5 separate regions of the Homo sapiens genome follow, and regions 2, 3, 4 and 5 are each linked to region 1. The links are contacts of gene promoters, found by promoter capture Hi-C in human tissues and cell types (Jung and others, 2019). All regions are on one chromosome and are shown on one strand. The core of a region is centred on a gene start or on the middle of the fragment in contact, and the rest is flanking DNA. Distances in the headings are between cores, read along the strand shown. Region 1 holds the start of LYZL2 (lysozyme like 2). Region 2 overlaps ARHGAP12 (Rho GTPase activating protein 12). Region 3 has its middle 130 kb from the start of EPC1. Region 4 overlaps KIF5B (kinesin family member 5B). Region 5 has its middle 120 kb from the start of KIF5B.

What was found. Contacts are between HindIII fragments. The study calls those that stand out against the background at their distance.
Region 2: a contact is called between a fragment that was not itself captured here and the fragment with the promoter of LYZL2 in region 1, in 1 of the 25 tissues and cell types used here (lymphoblastoid cells).
Region 3: a contact is called between a fragment that was not itself captured here and the fragment with the promoter of LYZL2 in region 1, in 1 of the 25 tissues and cell types used here (dorsolateral prefrontal cortex).
Region 4: a contact is called between a fragment that was not itself captured here and the fragment with the promoter of LYZL2 in region 1, in 1 of the 25 tissues and cell types used here (mesenchymal stem cells).
Region 5: a fragment that was not itself captured here is called in contact with the fragment with the promoter of LYZL2 in region 1 in 2 of the 25 tissues and cell types used here (lymphoblastoid cells and spleen).

What each region holds. Positions count from the first base shown.
Region 1 is chr10:30,627,928-30,632,371 of GRCh38, forward strand. LYZL2 (lysozyme like 2) reads right to left here and starts at 1,826. Exons shown (of 5, transcript NM_183058.3): 1 at 1,666-1,826. The HindIII fragment of the contact is 10,435 bases long and covers 86-4,444 here.
Region 2 is chr10:31,837,659-31,842,364 of GRCh38, forward strand. It overlaps ARHGAP12 (Rho GTPase activating protein 12), which reads right to left. Exons shown (of 20, transcript NM_018287.7): 8 at 1,979-2,053; 9 at 1,647-1,661. Among named protein-coding and RNA genes, the nearest start is that of ARHGAP12, 89 kb to the right of the region's middle. The HindIII fragment of the contact is 6,668 bases long and covers 42-4,706 here.
Region 3 is chr10:32,214,941-32,219,450 of GRCh38, forward strand. No RefSeq gene overlaps it. Among named protein-coding and RNA genes, the nearest start is that of EPC1, 130 kb to the right of the region's middle. The HindIII fragment of the contact is 4,027 bases long and covers 914-4,510 here.
Region 4 is chr10:32,031,001-32,035,905 of GRCh38, forward strand. It overlaps KIF5B (kinesin family member 5B), which reads right to left. Exons shown (of 26, transcript NM_004521.3): 9 at 4,890-4,905; 10 at 4,522-4,667; 11 at 3,690-3,838; 12 at 2,845-3,038; 13 at 1,706-1,774; 14 at 73-279. Among named protein-coding and RNA genes, the nearest start is that of KIF5B, 23 kb to the right of the region's middle. The HindIII fragment of the contact is 3,042 bases long and covers 1,007-4,048 here.
Region 5 is chr10:32,173,237-32,177,620 of GRCh38, forward strand. It overlaps the pseudogene RNU7-22P. Among named protein-coding and RNA genes, the nearest start is that of KIF5B, 120 kb to the left of the region's middle. The HindIII fragment of the contact is 5,563 bases long and covers 1-4,052 here.

The DNA.
Region 1 (4,444 bases), core at 576-3,075:
GACGGGCGGATCACGAGGTCAGGAGATCAAGACCATCCTGGCTAATGCGGTGAAACCCCGTCTCTACTAAAAATACAAAAAAATTAGCCGGGTGTGGTGGCATGTGTCTGTAGTCCCAGCTGCTCGGGAGGCTGAGGCAGGAGAATGGCGTGAACCCAGGAGGCTGAGCTTGCAGTGAGCGGAGATTGCGCCACTGCACTCCAGCCTGGGCGACAGAGCGAGACTCCGCCTCAAAAAAAAAAAGATTCATCGTTTGGGGGTTTATTGAAGGGTGAAGATTAAGCACCTAATCTTTCCTTTTCTTTTCTTGATGCATTTCAAAATGTGGGAGCATTGCTTCCAAAGTACTAGTGTTTTATCTTAGATTGCAAATGCATTGCTTTGCTAAGCTTCACAACCAGTGCTCCGGGCGGCCTCCTAAAAGTCTGGCACCTGACTGGGGAGCAAGAGGGATGGAGGACAAAGCCTCATGAAAGGAGGAAAGCACCTGGGGGAGCAGAGGGACAATAAAGAGGCCCCCATAGAATCGTCTGAAATGGGAGTAGGATCAAGAGCGCTGTCTCCTGCTGCCTACTGATTTTCCACAATCTCCTCCCCTCTTAAAATAATGTCTTCCCCAAACACAACAGCCTTGCTGGGATGGGGTGAAGTGAAATTTCTGACAACTACTCGGGATCCTGAACTTGATGTTCTTACATATGTTCATCCCGTGTCATTTTCTGCACTTGCCTGGAAACTTCTCTAGTCATTAGTTTCTCTCCCTGGGGCTGGATTCCTGCATTGAAAGGCTAGGCCCAAAACAGGGATAAGTAGTCATCAGCAAGGCCACCGCACCGAGTAACAAGCAGGGCTTTAAGGTGACTAAGCAATAAGATAAGGAACTGCATTGCATGAGGGGCATGTACATTACAAACGTGAATAGCAAGCGTGGGCAAACCAGGCCCGCTTTTGTATGTAAAGTTTTATTGAAACATAGCTACTCTCATCATTTGGTAATATATTGTTGGTGGCTGATTTCCTGCTGCAGTGGCAGAGTTGAGTAGCTGTGTTAGAGGCTGTATAGACCACAAAGCCTAACATATTATTATCTGGCCCTTTTCAGAGAGATCATGCCAGTCCGTGGTGTACAGCATTGTGCTAAGCTGTGAGGGACAGACAAACGAGGTTTAAGATGCAGAGCTTAGGCTGGGCATGGTGGCCCACACCTGTAATCTCAGCACTTTGTGAGGGTGAAAAGGGCAAATTGCTTGAAGCCAGGAGTTTGAGACCAGCCTGGGCAACAAAGGTAGACCTCTGTCACTACAAAATACACAAAAATTAGCCAGGCATAGTGGTGTGTGACTGTGGTCCCACCTGTTTGGGAGGCTGAGGTGGGAGGATCTTTTAAGGCTGGGAGGTTGAGGCTGTTGTGAGTTGTGATTGTGCCACTGCACTCCAGCCTGGGCAACAGAGTGACATCCTGTTTCAAAAAAAAAAAAAAAGATGCAGAGCTTACAAATAAGGTTGGTTTCCATCCTCTGCCTTAGAATGTTAACTGATCTCAAACAAGTCAAAACAAAACCCGTAGCAATGATAACCCCAAGCATCATGTTCTACATCCTTCAAGAACCTGCCATTGCTGGTTCTCAGGGACAGGTGGCTTCATAAGAGTAATTTAGGTCTTACTGAAAAGGCAGATTCCTGGTGCCTGCCGCAGAGGCTGACTTCTCAGTTGAGTCTGCGGAAGAAACACTGCTCCACTTAGTCGGTGACAGGCAGCTCAGGGGAGCGTCCTGCATCCCCTGAAGCCATGTCTGATTCTAACAAGGCTCGAGTAATCCTTTCCTAGCTCAAGAACCTTTCTTTAGAGTGTTAGAGAAAGAAAAATTCTTAGTCCTTTGTTTCTCACCACCTAGAGATGCTAGAATTCTACTTCTTGGCACTAAAAGCTATATCATCCTGCACGCTTGTGTTCTGAAGCAGGTGCTAACTCTCTTCTGGGCCTTAATACCTCTCGTTTTTTCTCTTTTCCTCTCAACAACTGTCCTCACTACACAACTTGGCCAGGGCCTCCCGTCCAAGTGAGAGCTCTTCTCTAAGGCAACAGTCTGCAAACTTTATCACAAATTCCATTAATAAAGTTAAGCATGTATCCTCTTTAGATGTATATTAAATTATAAATCACACTTCTGTACCTCTGTACTAATATGCTACATAAATTATCAACATACACAAAACTAAAATCTGAAAATGAATGAGAGGTGAAATTAACATTAAAAATTAATTAACAGCACATTTCTTTGCTATAGTTATATTGTTAATTAATAAAATATTGTCAAAGGAGGGCCACAAAAGAAATAAAAAATTTTTATGTATAATTAACATGATTTCATTGTTTTTTAAAAATTTGGCTTAACACTTTGTGACTCAATAAAGAGCTAGTTTGAAGGTCCATTTATTTCTGTGTTCAGATTTAATGACACATTTGAAATGAATTCTCATTGGAATATGTAGATCTCAGTATAAGTTTGTTGTTAGTTGTACCTAACTAATTATTGTATTTTATTAAATTCCATCTGCAAATAATGCAAAGATCTTGTTGAAATCTAGTTTTAAGTTTATATAGTATTACATTGTGTAGATATAACATATTTAGCCAATTCCATATTGACTCACACTTAAGGTATTTTTTTCTTCTATGATAAACATATTACAATTAGTAATCTTGTACATTTGTCATTTGTACATTTGCAAGAATATCTGTAGGATACATTCCTGGAAATTGAATTGCTGGGTTAAGGACTGTAATTTTGTAATTTTGCTAGATATTGCCAAATTGCCTTCCACGTGGGCTTGTATGACGAAGATGGCTAGCATACCCTATTACCAAAGGTTAAGATATTTGCTAATATTAGAGATGAAACATAATTTGTCAGCAAAGTTTCAATTTCAGCTTCCCTTATTTCAAGCTGTCTGAGCATCTTTTCTTATCTTCAGAAGCCATTTGTGGACTTTTTTCTCTCTCTCTCTCTCTTTTTTTTTTTTTTTAATTGAGACAGAGTCTCCCTCTGTTGTCCAGGCTGGAGCTCAGTAGTGTGATCTCGGCTCATTGCAACCTCCACCTCGCAGGTTGAAGCGATTCTCGTGCCTCAGCCTCCCGAGTAGCTGGTATTACAGGCATGTGCCCCCACGCCCAGATAATTTTTGTATTTTTAGTAGAGATGGTGTTTCACCATGTCTGCCAGACTGGTCTCAAACTCCTGATCTCAAGCAATCTGCTCGCCTCAACCTCCCAAAGTGCTGAAATTATAGGCATGATCCACGGCATCTGGCCTGTGTGCTTTTTCTTGTGAATTGTCTATAATACGAGAAAATACATAGGTTTTTCTTCAAACATCTTTTTCAAAGTGCTTTGAAATAGGAATTTTATAGTCAATGAGAAAATAGAGACAGATTGTCTTTTTTTTCAAAAATGCTTGTTTAGCAAGTTTTCGGATACATAGTAAATATACAAAAGCCATTTCTATTCTTATATACTAGGAATCAAAATATTTTAGATTCTTCTAAAATAAAAAATATCATTTACAACAGCACACACAAGAATATGACGTACTTAAATGTAAACCTAACAAAATCTGTGCAGGATATATATTCTGACAACTGTAAGACAGATGAAAAACTAAAGAAGACCTAAGTGGAAAAGAAATACCATGTTCCTGAATTTAAAAATTCTATGTTGTTAAGATTTAATCTATAGATTTAATGGAATTCCAATTAAAATCCCAGAAAATTGTTTTGAAAATATCAATAAGATGATCTTAAAACTTATACGGAAGGGCAAATGGACTACAATAAACAAAACTATTCAGAAAAAGAACAAAATTGAAGGACTCATTCTACATGATTTTAAGACAATATAAAGCTGTAGTAATCAAGAGAGAATGATATTGGTGGGAAGATAGACCCATAGACCAGTGGAACAGAAGAGAGAACCCAGAAATAGATCTATGAATATTTAGTCAACAACATTTTTTATAAAGATGCTAATTAAATTCAATGGAAAAATGATGTTCTTTTCACCAAATGGTACTAAAATAAGACTGTCTATGCTCAAAACACATGTTCAAAACCAACAAAATAAAAGAAGGCATATTGAAGAATACATACCTTATATCTCATATAAAAATTAATCTAAAATGGATCAAAGACATAAAAGTAAAAAATGAAACTATGAAATTCTATAAGTAAACATAGAAAATCAGCAGGACTTGGGTTTGGCAATAACATTTTAGACACAACAACAAAAGCACAATCCATGAAAGAAAAAAAAAACGTTTAGTTGGACTTGATCAAAATTAAAAATGTTTGCTCTTTGAAAGACACTGTTAAGAGAATGAAAAGACTAGCTACAGACTGGAAGAAATATTTATAAATCACATGTCTGATGAAAGCCTTGTATTCAGAA
Region 2 (4,706 bases), core at 2,126-4,625, 1.2 Mb after region 1:
ATGTGTACAACCCCTGATTAGTGCCAAAAAGACCAGATTGCACTAGGGAATGGAGAAAGAGTTAGAAAAATGAAACAGTATCTGTGAAAATCTTTACCTCTGGGAAATCTGAAGTATCCTAATAAATAACAGTGTATCATAATTTCATAAACTAGAGAAGCCATAATAAAATTTTGTCTTTTAAAAAGCTTTAAGGTTTCATTTATTTATTCAACAAATATTTACTGAGCAGCTATTATATGGCACTGTGGGAGGTAATGGGGTAACTCTGTTCCTGCTCTAATGAAGCTTTACTCTGTCTGGTGGGGAAGACAGACATTAATAGAGAGTTGGAGGTTCCTATAAGAAATAAATAATGACAAGTTATTTTATGTAATCGAATAATATATAATCAAATACTATGAAGAGTATTATAGGAAAACTTTGCCTAACCTAGAGAATTAGAATAAAATTCTCTGAGGAAATAAAAGTTCAAACTAAGCCCTGATGAATGAATAGAAGCTAACCAGGCAAAGATGTCGGGGAGAATGTTTCAGCATGCAGAAGAAATGACACACACAAGGACCCTGATCTGAAAGGCAGGCTCCTTTGAGGAACTGAGAGAAGGGTGGTGTGGTAGGACAACAAGCAAGAAGGGAAAAGGAAATATGAGATGAGGTGGTGGAGGCACTCAGGAGCCAGAGCATGCACAGCCTTGTCATGCTCATTAAGAATTTTAGGGCTTCATTCTACAAGAAAACAGGCTGGGTGTGGTAGCTCACATCTGTAATCCCAGCACTTTGGGAGGCCAAGGCAGGCATATCACTTGAGGCCACAAGTTCAAGACCAGCCTGGGCAACAAAGCAAGACCCCTTATCTCCATAAAAATTTTTAAAAAATTAGCCAAGCGGGCCAGGCACAGTGGCTCATGCCTGTAATCCCAGCACTTTGGGGGGCCAGGGTGGGTGGATCACTTGAGGGCAGGAGTTTGAGACCAGCCTGGTCAACATAGCGAAACCCCGTCTCTACTAAAAATACAAAAAATTAGCCAGGTGTTGTGGCGCATGCCTGTGATCCCAGCTACTCGGCAGGCTGAGACAGAAGAATCACTTGAACCTGGGAGGTGGAGGCTGCAGTTAGCCGAGATCATGCCATTGCACTCCAGCCTGGGCAACAGAGTGAGGCTCCATCTCAAAAAAAAAAAAAAAAAAAAATTTAGCAGAGCGTGCTGGTGCATGCCTGTGGTCCCAGCTACTAGGGAGGCTGAGACGGGAGAATCACCTAAGCCTGGTGGGGGAGGGGCAGGTGGTTGAGGCTGCAGTGAGCTATGATGGTTCTACTACACTCCAGCCTGGACAACAGAGCGCAACCATGTCTCTATTTAAAAAACGGTAACGAAAAAAAACCCAGAAGCCATTGAAGGGGAATAGCATGATCAGCAACAGAAAAGACTGGGAATGAGTATAAATACAGAAATTAAGTAAAATTTCATCAGAGTTAAGACAGGTATCTTAACAGAAGTCACATGGAGGTTTTCCAGTTTAGGAGAACTTACAGTTAAGCTATATTATTTCCAATATTCATCTGGCACAGACTTGGCAATATATTTTACAGCATAGAAAATGAAGGTGTCTATGCCTATTAAGAAGGAGAGGATTGCTTCTTACCTTTGGACTGCTGGCCTGAGGAAAAAAAGAGTAAAGTATAATGTCATAGTATTGTCTGGGAATTTTATATTTATTTTTAAAAACAAATATAAGTTCATCACTTAAAAATATGGTATATAATTTAATCATGTAAGATACCATATTTTAAACAAAAGGGGGACTTTTAAATCAATAAAATCTGATTGTTAAACTTATTTTGATTGTGATTTTTTAGAAAAACCAATGAAATTTAATAGAAGCTCATTTAAACATTACATTAAGAGTAAATTAACTTGCTAAAATTGATTGAAATAACTGGACTACATTATAAGATATGCTTCTATCATACTAACTGTATCTTGGTGCTTTGGTGAGGAGGGAGAAGACTCATTTTCAGGAAAGCAGGGTTTTGAGGCAGTTGGAGATTCCTACAAGAAATAAGTAATGAAAAAAGTTACTCTATTTTATATAATTATATTTCTGCCTCTACTCACAGTGGGAGAGCTTAGTAAGAGAGAATAACAAATTTTTTCCTCGTTATTTTCGTTCTATATTCAGCTCCAAGCTAATAAGGTAATGATTTTAAAACTACAAACGTTATTAAAAGTTTATAAAATATGGTGCTTTTTATAGCAATTACAGTTAAATTTAAATAATGCATATGGAATTACTCAAAAGAAATGATACAAGCTGCCTTAAAATCATGATGTTATATCAGTTTGAATTAACCATATTAAAATAAGTAAAACCTAAACACTTCTGGATAAATAAGTTATAATCATGATACTAACTTGCTCTTGGTATGGTAAGTATAAATACCCAGGATTAGGCAAGGTCACAGAAATACCTTAGCAAATGCCAGAATGAGAATTTAATTTTAGTCAAAAGCTATATAAGAAATTAAATTGCTATTAGTATTTAAGGTAATTTATAGAAAACTTTCCAAAAATTAGAAATAAGATATTTTAAATTCAAGAAAGAAACCTACGATTTAAATATTAATAACTCCCCAGAAAAAAAAATTTTAATGTCTAAGCCTACAAGAGTATCATAAGACCAAACCAATAACGTGTTTTTTTTTTAAGCAGTCTGCTTTGTCAATATTAAAACACAGAATATGATTTCTATTACAGATGTTGATAGGACTATTCATGGAGGGTAAGACTGAAAAACTTTTTTTTGGTAGCAGTAGCCCACCTCCACTTAAATTTTCTCCATTTCCTTAGATGTTTTGAATAATTTCAGAAAAAGAGAATTTTTTAAATCATACACCATTACCTATTATTAATTTGTTTCTATCAAACCAAAAAGTTCCTTTGAACATTCATCTCCACGTAGGTATCATTCTAGTTTTCTATGTCTATAAACCTGGAGAAGGTGCTGTCAACCAACCTGGGAATTTGTTTTAAGTAACACTTGCAAAAAAACTATTAACTCAACATTTACTGATTTGGAAAAATGTCTTCGGGTTTATATCCCACACAATTTGTAAATACAGAAACTAGTAGCAGTGAAAGTTTACATGGAAGCCCTTGAAGGGACAAGTTTATAAATCAAACAAGGTACTATTAATGGAGAAAATATTAAAATCACATTGAATAAAAAACTTCAAAAAAATTTAACTTAAGATCCAAATCTCACTTAAGTATTTTTTTCTGACAACTTCAGATCAATTTTTGATTCCTAAGACTGTCTGATAGTAAAACAGTATGAGAAAGATGGAAGATCTGATGATTCATAAAGTAGAAAATAAGTAACTGAATAAAATGATAATTATATTTTTCATAGCACATTCAGTCCCACAGAAATAAAAACCACAAATACAGTAATAACATATGTACAATTATAACTATTATAAACAAGAAATAATTTTACATGTATACATTTATCTATATTTAGATATATGCATATAAATATACACCTTATACATCTATGAATAGTTTTAGTAAAAACAGAAAAAAAAGGCAGAAACAGATGCATTCACACATACACACACAGACATACGGCTACCCTTCCAAGGTTATCTGTAAACTGAATTAGGACCTATGTCATCACAACAACATTTGCTATACAATAATAGATGGTCCTTGACTTATGATTGTTCAACTTTAAGGTGATGGGAAAGTGATAGGCATTCACTAGAAAACATACTTGAAATTTTGATCTTTTCCTGGGCTAACAATATTCAATATGACACTCTCTCATGATGCTGCACAGAGGCATCTAGCCCCAGCTTCCAGTCAGCCACCTGATTACCAGGGTAAACAGATTACAACGGTAAATAATTGATATTCTACAGTGTACCATGTTACTGAATGATTTTGCCCCACTGTAGGTTAATGTAAATGTTCAGAGCACATTTAAGGTAGGCTAGGCTAAGCCATGATGTACAGTGGGTTAGGTGTATTACATGCATTTCACCTTGTGGTATTTTCAATTAATGGTATTTTCAACTTATGTGGGTTTACTGGGATATAACCTCACCCTAAGTTGCAGAGCATCTGTATTAGGTTGCTGTGATTACAATTCAGGTTATACACACTTCATCCCTTATCACATATTAGCTAGTTTGTTCTGGTAGTCAGTCCCTTTTTCAAAACCTAAAATACTGCCTTATGTTAAGAAACTTATGCATCTGTTTGCAAAGGGTAAGGTAGAGGGTAAAAAAGACATTTCTACCAAAAATAAGTAAATCTCTAATCGCAAAAAAATCATATTCTTGCAACTCTGGGACAATGAGATGAAAGCATGCAAGTTATTTAAAGCAAGAGATTGAAAATTAATTTTAAAAAATGAATTGAGAGATTAAAAAGGAGTAAGATTGTTTGACATTTTATGATGTCGAAAAAAAGAAAAAGGAGTAAGAAATTTTAAGCATAAATTATCAAAATAATCATCCTATTTGTTCTGGTATGAAGAGGCGGTAGAGTTGGTTCAACAATGGTTTGACTTAGAACAGTATATATGGTATTTGGGAGATTCCTATTTATCCTGAATTGTAATCTGGTTCTTGGTTGAGTGAATTTTTCCTATTAGAAATCTCTAGGTATTTTTCTTACCTAGATTAATCTCAACACTAAT
Region 3 (4,510 bases), core at 1,677-4,176, 1.6 Mb after region 1:
AGCAATTTGCCCGCCTCAGCCTCCCAAAGTGCTGGGATTACAGGCATGAGCCACCGTGCCTGGCCCGATTTTTTATTTTTTGTAGAGATGGGGTCTTGCTACATTGCCCAGACTGGTCTTGAATTCCTGAGCTCAAGCAATCCTACGGCCTCAGCCTCCCAAAGAGCTGAGATTACAGGCGTGAGCCACCATACCTGGCCTTAAAATCTTTTGATTGTTAGGATAAGATTGACAAGTTAGATTTTAAAAACTCTTTAATATCCTACAAGGCAATAAATTTTAACTTTTGGGCTTATCTTTTCCACTAGACAGAAACTATTTGCACCTCTACTAGACCTGTTTAGGTTAACCTTTAAGGAATTGTAAAACAGCCCAATTGATCGAAATTAAATCAAAGAGCAAACCTAGCACCACACTGAAAGAACACTCAGAAATCTCTTTTGCCTATTTTCAATTTTGCATAATTATTCTAACAATCTCCCTCATTTGCAATAAAAAATAATCTCCAAAGATGAGTCCCAATCACAAAAGGGCTTGTCTAGATAGTTGGCTTGATTGTTTACAGAGATGTAGCAAGAATATTAATTAACTATTAGGCCAACTTGAGTTTGCTCTACAAACCTAGAGCCCTCGAATACTGAGCAACTACCAAGCCCAAGACACCCTACCAGGTCTCACCTGCAGTACCTGTTTAGACCTGACTGAAAGAGAATCCTTCTCAATTATAACATATCAGGTTTGGTCTTGATTGCACAGTTGACTTTTCCATTATATTTTTGGTAAAAAGGAGAACAGATTATTCTTGAACCTATGCAAATATTGAAGCTTTCTTTTTATCAGTGGTGATGGGTTTATTCTTGCAAATGAAGTATCACTTTCAATTATTTTTTCTAGCTGAATTACAATGATATGAAGAACGTAGTAGGTTTTCTGGTTTCTCATGCAGAGACCTTGTTTCAGGCATGAACTTAAAATATGACTCCAGGCCCTGTGGCCACCAAGCTTCTCCTATCACTTACAGGCAGTGGAGTCACCCTGCACTTAGAATTCTCCAGGTCTGAATTCTCGCTCTGCCACTTCCTAGCTATCCAGCTTTAGACTCATTTATAAAGCTCTTTGTGCCTTGATTTCCTCAACAACAACAACAACAACAAAAGAGAGTAATAATAATAATTGCCTTACAATATTGTTAAGAAGATTGAGGTCATATGTGCACAGCTTTTAGCTCATACCTGGCTGATAGTAAGTACTCAATAAATGGTTTTTTTGTTTTGTTTTATTTATTTTTGAGACAGGGTCTTGCTCTGCTGTCCAGGCTGGAGTGCAGTGGCGTGATCACAGCTCACTGCAACCTCAAACTCCTGGGCTCAAGTGATCCTCTCACCTCAACCTCCCAAGTAGCTGAAACTAAAGGCACACACCACCACATCTGACTAATTTTTTAAATTAATTTATTTATTTTTGAGATGGAGTCTCACTCTTGTCGCCTAGGCTGGAGTGCAATGACACGATCTTGGCTCACTCCAATCTCTGCCTTCCAGGTTCAAGCAATTCTCCTTCCTCAACTTCCCAAATAGCTGGGATTACAGGTGCCCACCATTACGCCCAGCTAATTTTTGTATTTTTAGTAGAGACAGGGTTTCACCATGTTGGCCAGGCTGGTCTTGAACTCCTGACCTCAGGTGATCCAGCCACCTTGGCCTCCCAAAGTGCTGGGATTACAGACCTGAGCCACTGCACCCAGCCATTTCTTTATTTTTTATATTAACAAGGTCTTGCTATGTTGCTCAGGCTGGTCTCAAACTCATGGCCTCAAGCAATCCTCCTGCCTCAGCCTCCCAAAGTGCTAGGATTATAGGTGTGAGCCAGTGTGCCTGGCCAGTAAATGTTATTATTAAGGATTAACTGTTAAATTAAGTAAGAGCAAAGAAGTAAGAAGTTCTGCAGAGGATGGGAGAGTTGTGTGTCTTCGGTGACTGCCCCTGAAGGTTTGTCTTGAGTATTTGGTGTAGTAGATCTGCGTAGACTTGCAAGACACCAAGTTGTCAAAACCACTTTCTGACAGAGAAAATTTTATCCATGATCCTTTTTGTGCACCTTATTGCTATTTCCATCACCAGTGAATTTTTACTTTACAATGCTCATTTAGCAAACATTCCTTATTTTGTTTTATGCATTTCACTTAAGAAAAGAATTGGCCATATGTTCCAAGAAAGAAAAAAAAACCAAAAACCTGTTTTGTACTCCATATGCAAAGCTGCTGTCATAGTCACTGGTTTTGCCAGTGTTTATTGTGTATTATGTTTTGCTTCAATTGACATAATTTCATGCTGCATTAGCCAGATAAGAAGGATTTATGGTGAATGATATCAAACAGTTTCAATCAGCAAAGATGCCAGGTGTGTGGTGGTGGAAAATTGTAATGGGAAGATTCTAACCTTGTTCATAGAGCACGCTAGTTACCCAAAACATTATTTTAACATCTGTTCAAGTCACACTCATTAGCAGGCATTTGCAGTATTGTGAATGAAATACTGATTTCCAAAGACAAGGCATTCAACAGTTGCCTGATTTGGAAACCAAATGGTTCCTGTCAATTTGCATGATAGTGTCAGTATGGCTGCAAAGGATGCTGTTCTGGTTTGACTGAAAGAGTGGAACCTACTGCAGGATATCTAGAAATCTGGTAGGTTTGGGGGTCTCCCCCTTCTCTCCACATCCCATTCATCGCCAAGTCCAGCAAACTCTTCTACCTGGCCATTCCTTCTCTCTCGCATCTTCTCTGTAGGTCCTGCCCGGGTTTAGGTCTGCATGGCTCTCACGCCATCGTCCCTGCCTCTAACATTTTCTACTCCAATGGTCTCTTCACATTGCTCCTGCTTGAATAATTTTTTTTCCAACATACAAATCTGATTACAGGTTGAGGATCCCTAATATAAAAATCTGAAATCTGAAATGCTCTAAAATCAGAATCTTTCTGAGTGTCGACATGACACCAAAAGTAGAAAATTCCACACATAAGTACTTAACACAAACTTGGTTTCATGCACAAAATTATTTACAATATTGCATAAATTACCTTCAAACTCTGCATATAAGGTGTATATAAAATGTTAATGAATAATGTTAATGTATAAATCGTATGGATGTATGAATTGTATAAAATGTATGAATAATGTATAAAATTACCTTCAGACTCTGTTTCGTTAAAACATTAATTAGTTTCATGTTTAGCCGTGGGTCCTAACCCCAAGATATCTCATTAAGTACATGTAAATATTTCAAAATCTGAAAAAATCCGAAATCTGAAGCACTGCTCATCCCAAGCATTTTGAATAAGAGACACTCAACCTGTATTTTACTTCCCACAACAAAGTTACTCAGTGACTCCCTGCTAACCACATGATACAATCTAAACTTCTGGGGTTGGCACACAAAGGCCTTCAGGGTTGCCCCTGCCGTCCTGTGAAGCCTTGCAGGCCCATGTTCCCTTCCACAAGCTTCACCCTCCATATTAGGGAACTCTGTGGTTTCCTTTACTCACCCTTCACATTTCTGTTCAATTGCTTTCCTTGGTAACTTAAACAAATCAACAAGCAAAAAACAACCCCATTAAAAAGTGGGCAAAAGACATGAACAGACACTTTTCAAAAGACGACATACACACAGCCAACAAGCATTTGAAAAAATGCTTAACATCACTGATCATTAGAGAAATGCAGATCAAAACCACAGTGAGATACCATCTCACACCAATCAGAATGGCTATTATTAAAAAGTCAAAAAATAACAGATGTTGGTGGGAATGTAAATCAGTTCAGCCATTGTGGAAAGCAGTTTGGCAATTTCTCAAAAAACTTAAAACAGAACTACCATTTGACTCAGTAATCCCATTATTGGGCATACACCCAAAGGAATATAAATCATTCTACCATAAAGACACATGCATGCATGCTGTGGGAAGTCAGCAACCCGAACGGAGGGACTGGCTGGAGCCAAGGCAGAAGAACATAAATTGTGAAGATTTCATGGACACTTATCAGTTCCTAAAATTAATACTTTTATAATTTCTTATGTCTGTCTTGTCTTTAATCTCTTAATCATGTTATCTTCTTAAGCTGAGAATGTACGTCACCTCAGGACCACTATTGTACAAATTGATTGTAAAACATGTATTTGAACAATATGAAATCAGTGCACCTGAAAAAGAACAGAATAACAGTGATTTTCAGGGAACAAGGGAAGGTAACCATAAGGTCTGACTGCCTGCAGGGTCGGGCAGAATAGAGCCATATTTTTTTTCTTGCAGAGAGCCTATAAATGGACGTGTGAGTAGGAGAGATATCGCTGAATTCTTTTCCCAGCAAGGAATACTAATAATGGATACCCTGGGGAAGGAATGCATTCCTCAGGGGAGGTCTATAAAAGGCCACACTGGGAGTGTCTGTCTTATGCTGTTGAGATAAGAACTGAAATACGCCCTGGTCTCCTGCAGTACCCTCAGGCTTAC
Region 4 (4,905 bases), core at 1,278-3,777, 1.4 Mb after region 1:
TTATTTAAGTAGTTTTTAGGTTAAGAATACTTGTACTAAAGCATTAAAAAAGAAAATAAAACTATATCCTACCGATTTCTGATTCAATTCATCACTAAGCAATTCATATTCCTTAGTTTTGTCTTCAACTTCCTGAGACTTCTGATCATAATTGACAGCAAGTTCTTCTAGGGCCTGTAAAACTTCTTTCACTTCTTCTTTAGAGGCATCATTTTCTGCTTGAAGGCGATTCAGCTCAGCTTGCATATTGTCTTGATCCCTTCTGGTAGATGCCAAAAGCTATAGGACAGAAAATAATTTATTTTCCCCAAAAGTATACAGGTTTTAAAAAACACCCATGAAGCTTCACCATTTGTCAAGAACAAATGGAGTGAAATATGGATGGTATTCAGTGTGGCAACATTTATTCATTAAACAGATTTACTAAATGTCAACTATGTGCAGGCACTGTGCTGGATGCTGCAAGGCAGAAAGAAAATCAAAGACTGTGTTTAAGGAACACAGTAGAAGAGAAGATAGGCACATGAATAAGTGCAGTACAAGATAGAAGGTCAGAACCATAAGAGAGGGACAGGACAGATAAAGTGCTTAGTAATACAGGAAAGAGTATTCATTCATGGAGAAGTTGGCTAGGAGAGATCGACTGCAGTCACATGCAAATTAATGTAATAAAGGAAAATGGCATTCTACAAGAGTTGCTTAAAAATTTAGATTTGGGCCAGGCGGGGTGGCTCACGCCTGTAATCCCAGCATTTTGGGAGGCCGAGGCGGGCGGATCACAAGGTCAGGAGTTTGAGACCAGCCTGACCAACATGGTGAAATCCCGTCTCTACTAAAAATACCAAAAAATTAGCCAGGCGTGGTGGCGGGCGCCTGTAATCCCAGCTACTCGGGAGGCTGAGGCAGAAGAGTCGCTTGAACCTGGGAGGTGGAGGTTGCAGTGAGCCAAGATCACGCCGCTGCACTCCAGCCTGGGGAACAAGAGCAAGACTTCGCCTCAAAAACAAAAACAAAACCTGGTATCAGCACATAAAATCTGAACTGCAGGGATGCCAAGAGACTAGTTAGGAGAAAACCACAATCATCCACATTAGTGGCTCTCCTGTAGGGATATCCGGAAATCTGTGGGAGTGTTAATAATAGGGTAGAATGCTAATGGCATTTAGGAGTAGGGACCAGGAATGTTTAATGTCCTATAATACAAAGGACAGAATAACATAAATTATCCAATGCAAAATATCAATAGTGCCCCTTTGAGGAATAATGCTATAGTTGAAATATGAAATGCTATAGTTGAAAGATGATCTGACCAGGATTAAGTTCACTGATGGAGAGTATCTCTTTCTTACCGAAGCAGTCTTTGTCTTCACCCTGCCCACCACCCCCACAAAAAAATTTAAAGGACTGCTTTTCAATTATCCCCCTGCTCTGCTGGGTGAGAAGATAAAATGAGGATCCAAAGTAAGTGACAAGAAGAGAAATGTCAAGAACCAGGGTGAAAAAAAAGATGGCGGAAATGAACAACAGATTGTATCTGGGTAGATACGATGAATAAGTAAAAATTCACTTTATCCATGTGACATTCTTATTCCCACAAAGACAGTCATACCCAAAATTATACAACTATTAAAGACAAAGTCAATGGGATTCAGAAAACAAAACTATAAAGCTTTTCTGGAAGCAATGTAAAAGGTATTCAACTCACCTCCTCCTGATCCAACATTTGCGTCTTCAGTTTCTCTACCAGTTGACTTTGCTGGTTAATTTCTTCATCCTAGAATTGTGAAGTATCCGGTTAACCAGTAGCTAACAACCTGGTTCTAGTTGTTTCCCAATACAGGTTATAAGATTACTACTCCCCAGAAATATTTCAAAACCATTTCTCTAAATTCAACATTGCTTATTTTAATCTCTTTTAAGAAAATGGCAAAACAAAAGGAATTTCTTTCAATTATCAATACTTATAATGGTCATGTACTTCGAACCTGCCATCTCTGCTTAAAATATATTAAAAATATCAACTTAAGAAAATATTTTCTTCTAATCTCTTTACTACTCTTGTTCTTGCCTTCCATTCTATTACGTTCTTAGTTTGCTATTATTCATACTATTGACATTACTTCTATATGCAAAGCAGGAAGATATTATTTCCACTCTATTGTGTTTCCCTTAATCTCTCACATCATCTTTTATTGGAGTCTTCAGAGCCCTGATTCTAACAATTGGTATCATTGAGGCTCCCAATGACCCAATGCCAAATTTTCATTAGAACAGGGGTCCCCAAGCCCCCAGGCCACAAAGCAGTACTGGAAGCCTGTTAGGAACCAAGAAGCACAGCAGGAGGTGAGCAGCAAGCATTACCACTTGAGCTCCGCCTTCTGCCAGATCAGCAGCATTAGAATATCATTAAGAGCGCGAACTCTATTATCAGCTGTGCATGCAAGAGATCTAGGTTAGAGGATCCTTATGAGAATCTAATGCCTGATAATCCAAGGTGGAAGTTTCATCCCAAAACCATCTCCCCGACCTGATCCACGGAAAAACTGTCTTCCCTGAAACCAGTCCCTGGTGCCAAAAAGGTTGGGGACTGCTGCCTTATAAAGTTCTTTTAGCTTAAAAAGAGGGGGAAGAAAAGATACATGCTCATACAGTTTCCACACAGAAATTGAAATTATGACTTTTTATTTTGTTAATACAATAATTTTTACAAGATTAACAGAAATCAAGGAAGATGCATAAAGATCCTAAGTGCCCACAGCACTGAAATGAGAAAAGTTAGAAAATAAAAACACCCATGTCAATAGTATCCTAATATAAAGCAGACCTAAATCAAGCAATACCTACCTTGTCATCAAGCTGTTTGTATAATTTAGCAATTTCTTCTTCACACTTTCTTCTTTCAGCATCAGTAAAATTTCCTATAACTCCAATTGCGGTTGCTGGTTTATCATTGGTAAGAGTAATATCTTTATCCACTGTGAAAGCTTCCAAGTTGGCTTTCTCTTTGTCAAACTGTTCATCAATAGGCACCGTCTCCCCTAAAATAAGAAAATAAAGTGGTTAATAAAAAAACGACGTCTAAAGCTAATTTCAATTTCATTCCTTTAAAAATTTTTTTTTTTTTTTTTGAGACAGAGTCTCAATCTGTCACCCTGGCTGGAGTGCAGTGGTGCAATCTAGGCTCACTGCAACCTCTGCCTCCAGGGTTCAAGCAATTCTACTGCCTCAAGACTCCTGATTAGCTGGGATTACAGGCGCTCAGCACCATGCCAGGCTAATTTTGGTGTTTTCAGTAGAGATGGGGTTTCAACATGTTGGCCAGGCTGGTCTCTAACTCCTGACCTCAAGTGATCTGCCCACCTTGGCCTCCCAAAGTGCTAGGATTACAGGCATGAGCCAGTGCACCCAGCCTCGTTCTTTCAAACTTTTTCTTCTCTGTGTTATTTTCAAATAATCTGTCTTCAAGTTCAGATTCTTCTGCTTAATTAATTCTACTACTGATGGTCTCTTGCATTTTGCTCATTTTATTTTTCAGCTCCAGGATTTCTATTAATTTTTTTAAAAATTATTTCGATGTCTATTAAATTTCTTGATCTAGTCACTTACTGATTTTGCTGAACTATTTCTACGTTTCTATGCTCTAAATCTGTATTTAACAAACTGAAGATGACAAATTCTTAAGTTATTACCATTACGCCATCTGTTGAGCTCATTTTCAAGCCACTGAATAGTGTTCCGCAGGATCTTATTTTTTTCTTTTTCTTTTTCATACTTCTTTTTCCACTGTTCTGCAGTTAACTCCACATTGACACAAACTGTGTTCTTAATTGTTTTGGCCCTAAGAGATGTAATTGGAGGAAAAAAAGGATGAGACTGAAATTATTTTTAATTTTATCTATATGGAATATATGTATATATGGCTAAGAAACTTATGCTTGTCCAGTAATCTCTTAGACTAAATACTAAAAGCCGCAACATATGACGTTATTTACAACTCAACTAAATTTGAGTCTGCTCCAAAATCTGTGAATAGCTTTAAAAAAAAAAAAATCAACAAACCACTAAAAATAAAAGACAAAGGCCTATATTTTTCCAATTTGTTTGCAAGGCTGAATTAAGAAATTACTGTTGAAAGTCAAAGACGGAATCATCATTACTGATTTTCCTAATCATCTCATACAGATTATATTAACCTGTCATGCATGTCTACAGGCTTAACAGAGGATTATGTTTGCCAGGCTTTGACCTCATTATTTGATTCAAATGCTTATTTTCTTTAATACCAAATTACAGCTTGTCACACAAATTTGACTAAAATTACATCTGACTTTAATGTGTACTAAAACTTAAACCAAGCAGTCTAAAAATCAGACCCACCTTGTATTATCTGTCATCAATTCAAACTGAGTGTGTCTAGCACAAAACAGTATGTACAGGTTGGAATAACAGCTCACATTTTCCTACATTTTATAAACAAAAGGTCTATCTAAATTTAGGTTTTGTACTTTCTTAACAACAAACCTTTGGCCAAATAAGAGTGTAGATTTTGTTTCAGACTCATTGTATGATGATGGAGAGCAGCAAATTACAATAGTGGTTCTACAGTTGCCACCTAATGAATCTTGAAGGATTCTTGTCATTTTACTATCTCGATATGGAACATATGTCTGCATACAAAAACAAAGAAAGAAAACAAGACCAGTATAATAAAATGTTATTATAAAATAAACTCCCAAAAGACAACTAACTTACACATACTGATTCAAACACATTGAATCTCAATCTCTCTTTCTCTCTCTCTCTCTCATACACACCCAGGCACACATATACACCTATATTTAAATAATGCCCCATAAGGTAACAGGGAGATAGAAGACATGTATACTCACACTACCCTCAGCCAAA
Region 5 (4,384 bases), core at 21-2,520, 1.5 Mb after region 1:
CTCAAGATATCTTCCCACCTTGGCCTCCCAAAGCACTGAATTATAAGCATGAGCCACTGTGCCCAGCCTTGGTTTTAAATATACATACATACATATATATATATATATGTATATATATGTGTATATATATGTGTATATATATGTGTATATATATGTATATATGTGTATATATGTATATATGTGTATATATATGTATATATGTATATATATATGTATATATATGCGTATATATATGTGTATATATGTGTATATATATGTATATATGTATATATATATGTATATATATGTGTATATATGTATATATATATGTGTATATATGTATATATATGTGTATATATATGTATATATATATGTGTATATATACATATATATATAAAATATAGAAAGCAACAAAAGTGAGATACAGTTCTTCCTCTTCCCTTTCTTTTTCTTAAAAGAAAATCTTTTGAGTGTTACAGCTCTTTTAGAATTTGTCTAGCCGGCTTTCCAGTTTTGCCGGAAAGCCCCCAAATAAATAAATAAATATAAATCTTTTGCATCAAAGGACATTATCAAGAATGTGAAAGACAACCTACAGAATGGGAGAAAATATTAACAAATCATATATCTCATAAGGGTTCAATATTCAGAATATATAAAGAACTCTTACAACTCAACAACAAAAACATAACATAGGGCCTGGCATGGTGGCACACGCCTGTAATCCAGCACTTAGGGAGGCTGACACGGGTGGATCACCTGAGGCCAGGAGTTCAAGACTAGCCTGGCCAATATGGCGAAACCCCGTCTTAACTAAAAACACAAAAATTAGCTGGGCATGGCGGGCACCTGTAGTCCCAGCTACTCGGGAGGCTGAGGTGGGAGAATCGCTCGAACCCAGGCGGCAGAGGTTGCAGTGAGCCGAGATTGCACCACCACACTCTCCAGCCTGGGCAGCAGAGCGAGACTCCATCTCAAAAAAAGAAAACAAAAAAAATAAACAGATAACTCAGTTAAAAAACAGGCAAAGGACATGAATAGACATTTCTCCAGAGAAGATATACGCATGGCCAAAAAGCACATGAAAAGATTTTCCACGTCATTGGTCATTAGGGAAATTAAATCACAACCAAAATGAGATACCACCTCAACTAGGATGGCTCAAATAAAAAAAAGAGTTGGTGAGGGTATAGAGAAACTGGAACCCTTCAGCATTGCTGGTGCAAATGTATAAAGGGTGCAGCCACTGTGGAAAACAGTCTGGCAGTTTCTCAGAAAGTTAAACATAGAGTTTCCATATGACCCAGCAATTCCGCTCCTAAGTATACACCCAAGAGAAATGAAAACATATGTCCACACAGAAATTTATACACAAGTGTTTATAGCAGCATTATTTATTTGTTTAAGCTTTTAATTTTTTTTGAGACAGGGTTTCACTCCCATCACCCAGGCTGGAGTGTAGTGATGCAATCTTGGCTCACTGCATTCTCCACCACCGGCGCTCAAGCAATTTTCCTGCCTCAGCCTCCAGTGTAGCTGGGATTATAAGACCATACCTGGCTAATTTTTTGTATTTTTAGTAGAGACAGGGTTTTGTGATGTTGAGCCTGAGATCAGGTGATCTGCCTGCCTTGGCCTTGCAAAGTGCTGGGATTACAGGCATGATCCACCATGCCCAGCCAACAGCATTATTTGTGATACCCAAAGGTGGAAACAGCCCATCCGTTGATGAATGGATAAACAAATGTGGTATACTTTTTTTTGGAGACAGAGTTTTGCTCTGTCACCCAAGCTGGAGTGCAGTGGCGCAATCTCGGCTCACTGCAACTTCTGCCTCCCGGGTTCAAGCGATTCTCCTGTCTCAATCTCCTGAGTAGCTGCAATTATAGGCGCCCACCACTGCACCCGGCTAAATTTTGTATTTTTAGTAGAGATGGGGTTTTGTTGTGTTGGCCAGACTGATCTCAAGCTCCTGACCTCAAGTGATCCACCCACCTCGGCCTCCCAAAGTGCTGGGGTTACAGGCGTGAGCTACGGCGCCCAGCCAACTCTTTTTTTTTTTTTTTTTTTTTTTTTTTTGAGACAGAGGCTCGCTCTGTAGCCCAGGCAGGAGTGTAATGGTGCGATCTCGGCTCTCTGCAACTTTTGCTCCCTGGGTTCAAGCGATTCTCCTGCCTCAGCCTCCTGAGTAGCTGGGACTACAGGTGCGCGCCACCATGCCCAGCTAATTTTTGTATTTTTAGTAGAGACGGGGTTTCACCACGTTGGTCAGGCTGGTCTCAAACTCCTGACCTTGTGATCCACCCACCTTGGCCTCCCAAAGTGCTGGGATTACAAATGTAAGCCACGGTGCCCAGCCAACTCTTAACGAAGTAGTATTCAGCCATAAAAAGGAACAAAGTACTGACACATGCTACAATATGAAGGAACCTTGAAAACATTAAGCTACCTGAAAGAAGCCTGTTACAAAAGGCCATATATGTATCATTCCATTTATATGAAACATCCAGGTTAGGCAAATCCATCAAGACAGAAAGTGGATTAGAGGTTAGCAAGAGGTGGGTGGACAGAGAAGTGGGGAGTGATTACTTAGTGGGTATAGGGCTTCCTTTTACAGGTAAAGGAAAAAATCTTGAAACTTGAGAGAGCTGGTGGTTGCACAATATTTGAGTGCACTAAATGTGACTGAATTGGTCATTCAAAATGAACAAAAGTGGTTAATATTATGTAAATTTCTTTTGTTTTTTTTGAGACAGAGTCTCGCTCTGTCACCCAGGCTGGAGAGCAGTGCTGCCATCCTCGCTCACTGCAATCTTTGTCTGCCGGGTTCAAGCAATTCTCCTGCCTCAGCCTCCCAAGTAGCTGGGATTACAGGTGTGCACCATCACGCCCGGCTAATTTTTGTATTTTTAGTAGCGAAGGGGTTTTACCATGTTGGCCAGGCTGGTCTTGAACTCCTGATCTCAAGTGATCTGCCCACCTCAGCCTCCCAAAGTGCTGGCATTATAGGCATGAGCCACTGTGCCTGGCCATAAATTTCACTTCAAAAAAAAAAAAAGTGATCAGTTAAGGAAAAAAAAAAAAAGATAGTTGGGCCTAGGTCATGAAGAGGCTGAAAACCAAGCAGCAGAATTTGTGCTTTATTCTGTAGGTAATAGGGAGCCATTGAAGGTTTTATCCAGTGACAGCCGTTGAGTCGGGTAGAACAGAGAGGAAGGGAGAAACTGGAGCTGGGTGGGCCAAGTAGAAGGTCACTGTCATAGTCCAGCTGCCAGCAAGAACTGACATGGCTCTGCAAGCAACAGAGAGGGAAGGAAAATATGAGAGAACCATTTCAGTACCAATAGGGTCTCAGCAACTGATTGGATATGGGCAGCAAGGAAAGCCAGGAGTGGATTGATTTTGAGGTATTGAACCGGGTGCCTGCATAAAGGTGGATTCATAGGAGAAGGAGCTGCTCTTTGAAGGTGTTAAAAAATGGAAGAGGGGCCAGGTGCGCTGCCTCACACCTGTAATCCCAGCACTTTGGGAGGCCGAGGAGGGTGGATCACTTAAGGTCAGTTCAACACCAGCCTGGCCAACATGTTGAAACCCTGTCTCTACTACAAATACAACAATTAGCTGGGCATGGTGGCACACTCCTGTAGTCCCAGCTACTCAAGAGACTGAAGCACAAGAATCACTTGAACCCAGGAGGTAGAGGTTGTAGTAAGCCGAGATCATGCCACTGCACTCCAGCCAGGGTGACAGAGCTAGACTCCATCTCAAAAAATAATAATTAAAAAATTTAATAGAAGAAGAAGGTGATGGGCTCAGATCAGTTTTAAGCCCTGGCTGGGGATCTAACGAAAAGCTCTCCAGCCGGGCACAGTGGCTCACACCTGTAATCCCAGCACTCTGGGAGGCTGAGGCGGGTGAATCACAAGGTCAGGAGACCGAGACCATCCTGGACAACATGGTGAAACCCCGTCTCTACTGAAAATACAAAAATTAGCTGGGTATAGTGGCGCGTACCTGTAATTCCAGCTACTCGGGAGGCTAAGGCAGGAGAATCGCTTGAACCAGGGAGTCGGAAGTTGCAGTGAGCCGAGATCATACCACTGCACTCCAGCCTGGCGACAGAGCGAGACTCTGTCTCAAAAAACAAACAAACAAACAAACAAACAAACAAACAAATGCTCTCCAAGCAGGAACCATGGACTTGTTCTGGGGAGCAACTCAGATTTGGGTGGAGGTAACTCAGGAGGTTCAAGTCACACCCACTCCCTGCTACTGTCCCCAGAGTAGGAGTCCCCAAGTCAGGCTCCATGGTATCCCCAATGAAGAGGGTAAAGCCAAGACCAGGCTTCTGTAATTAACTGTAGCTACTCAATGCTTCACCCAGCAGGGAGTGGGAGAGTGGCTG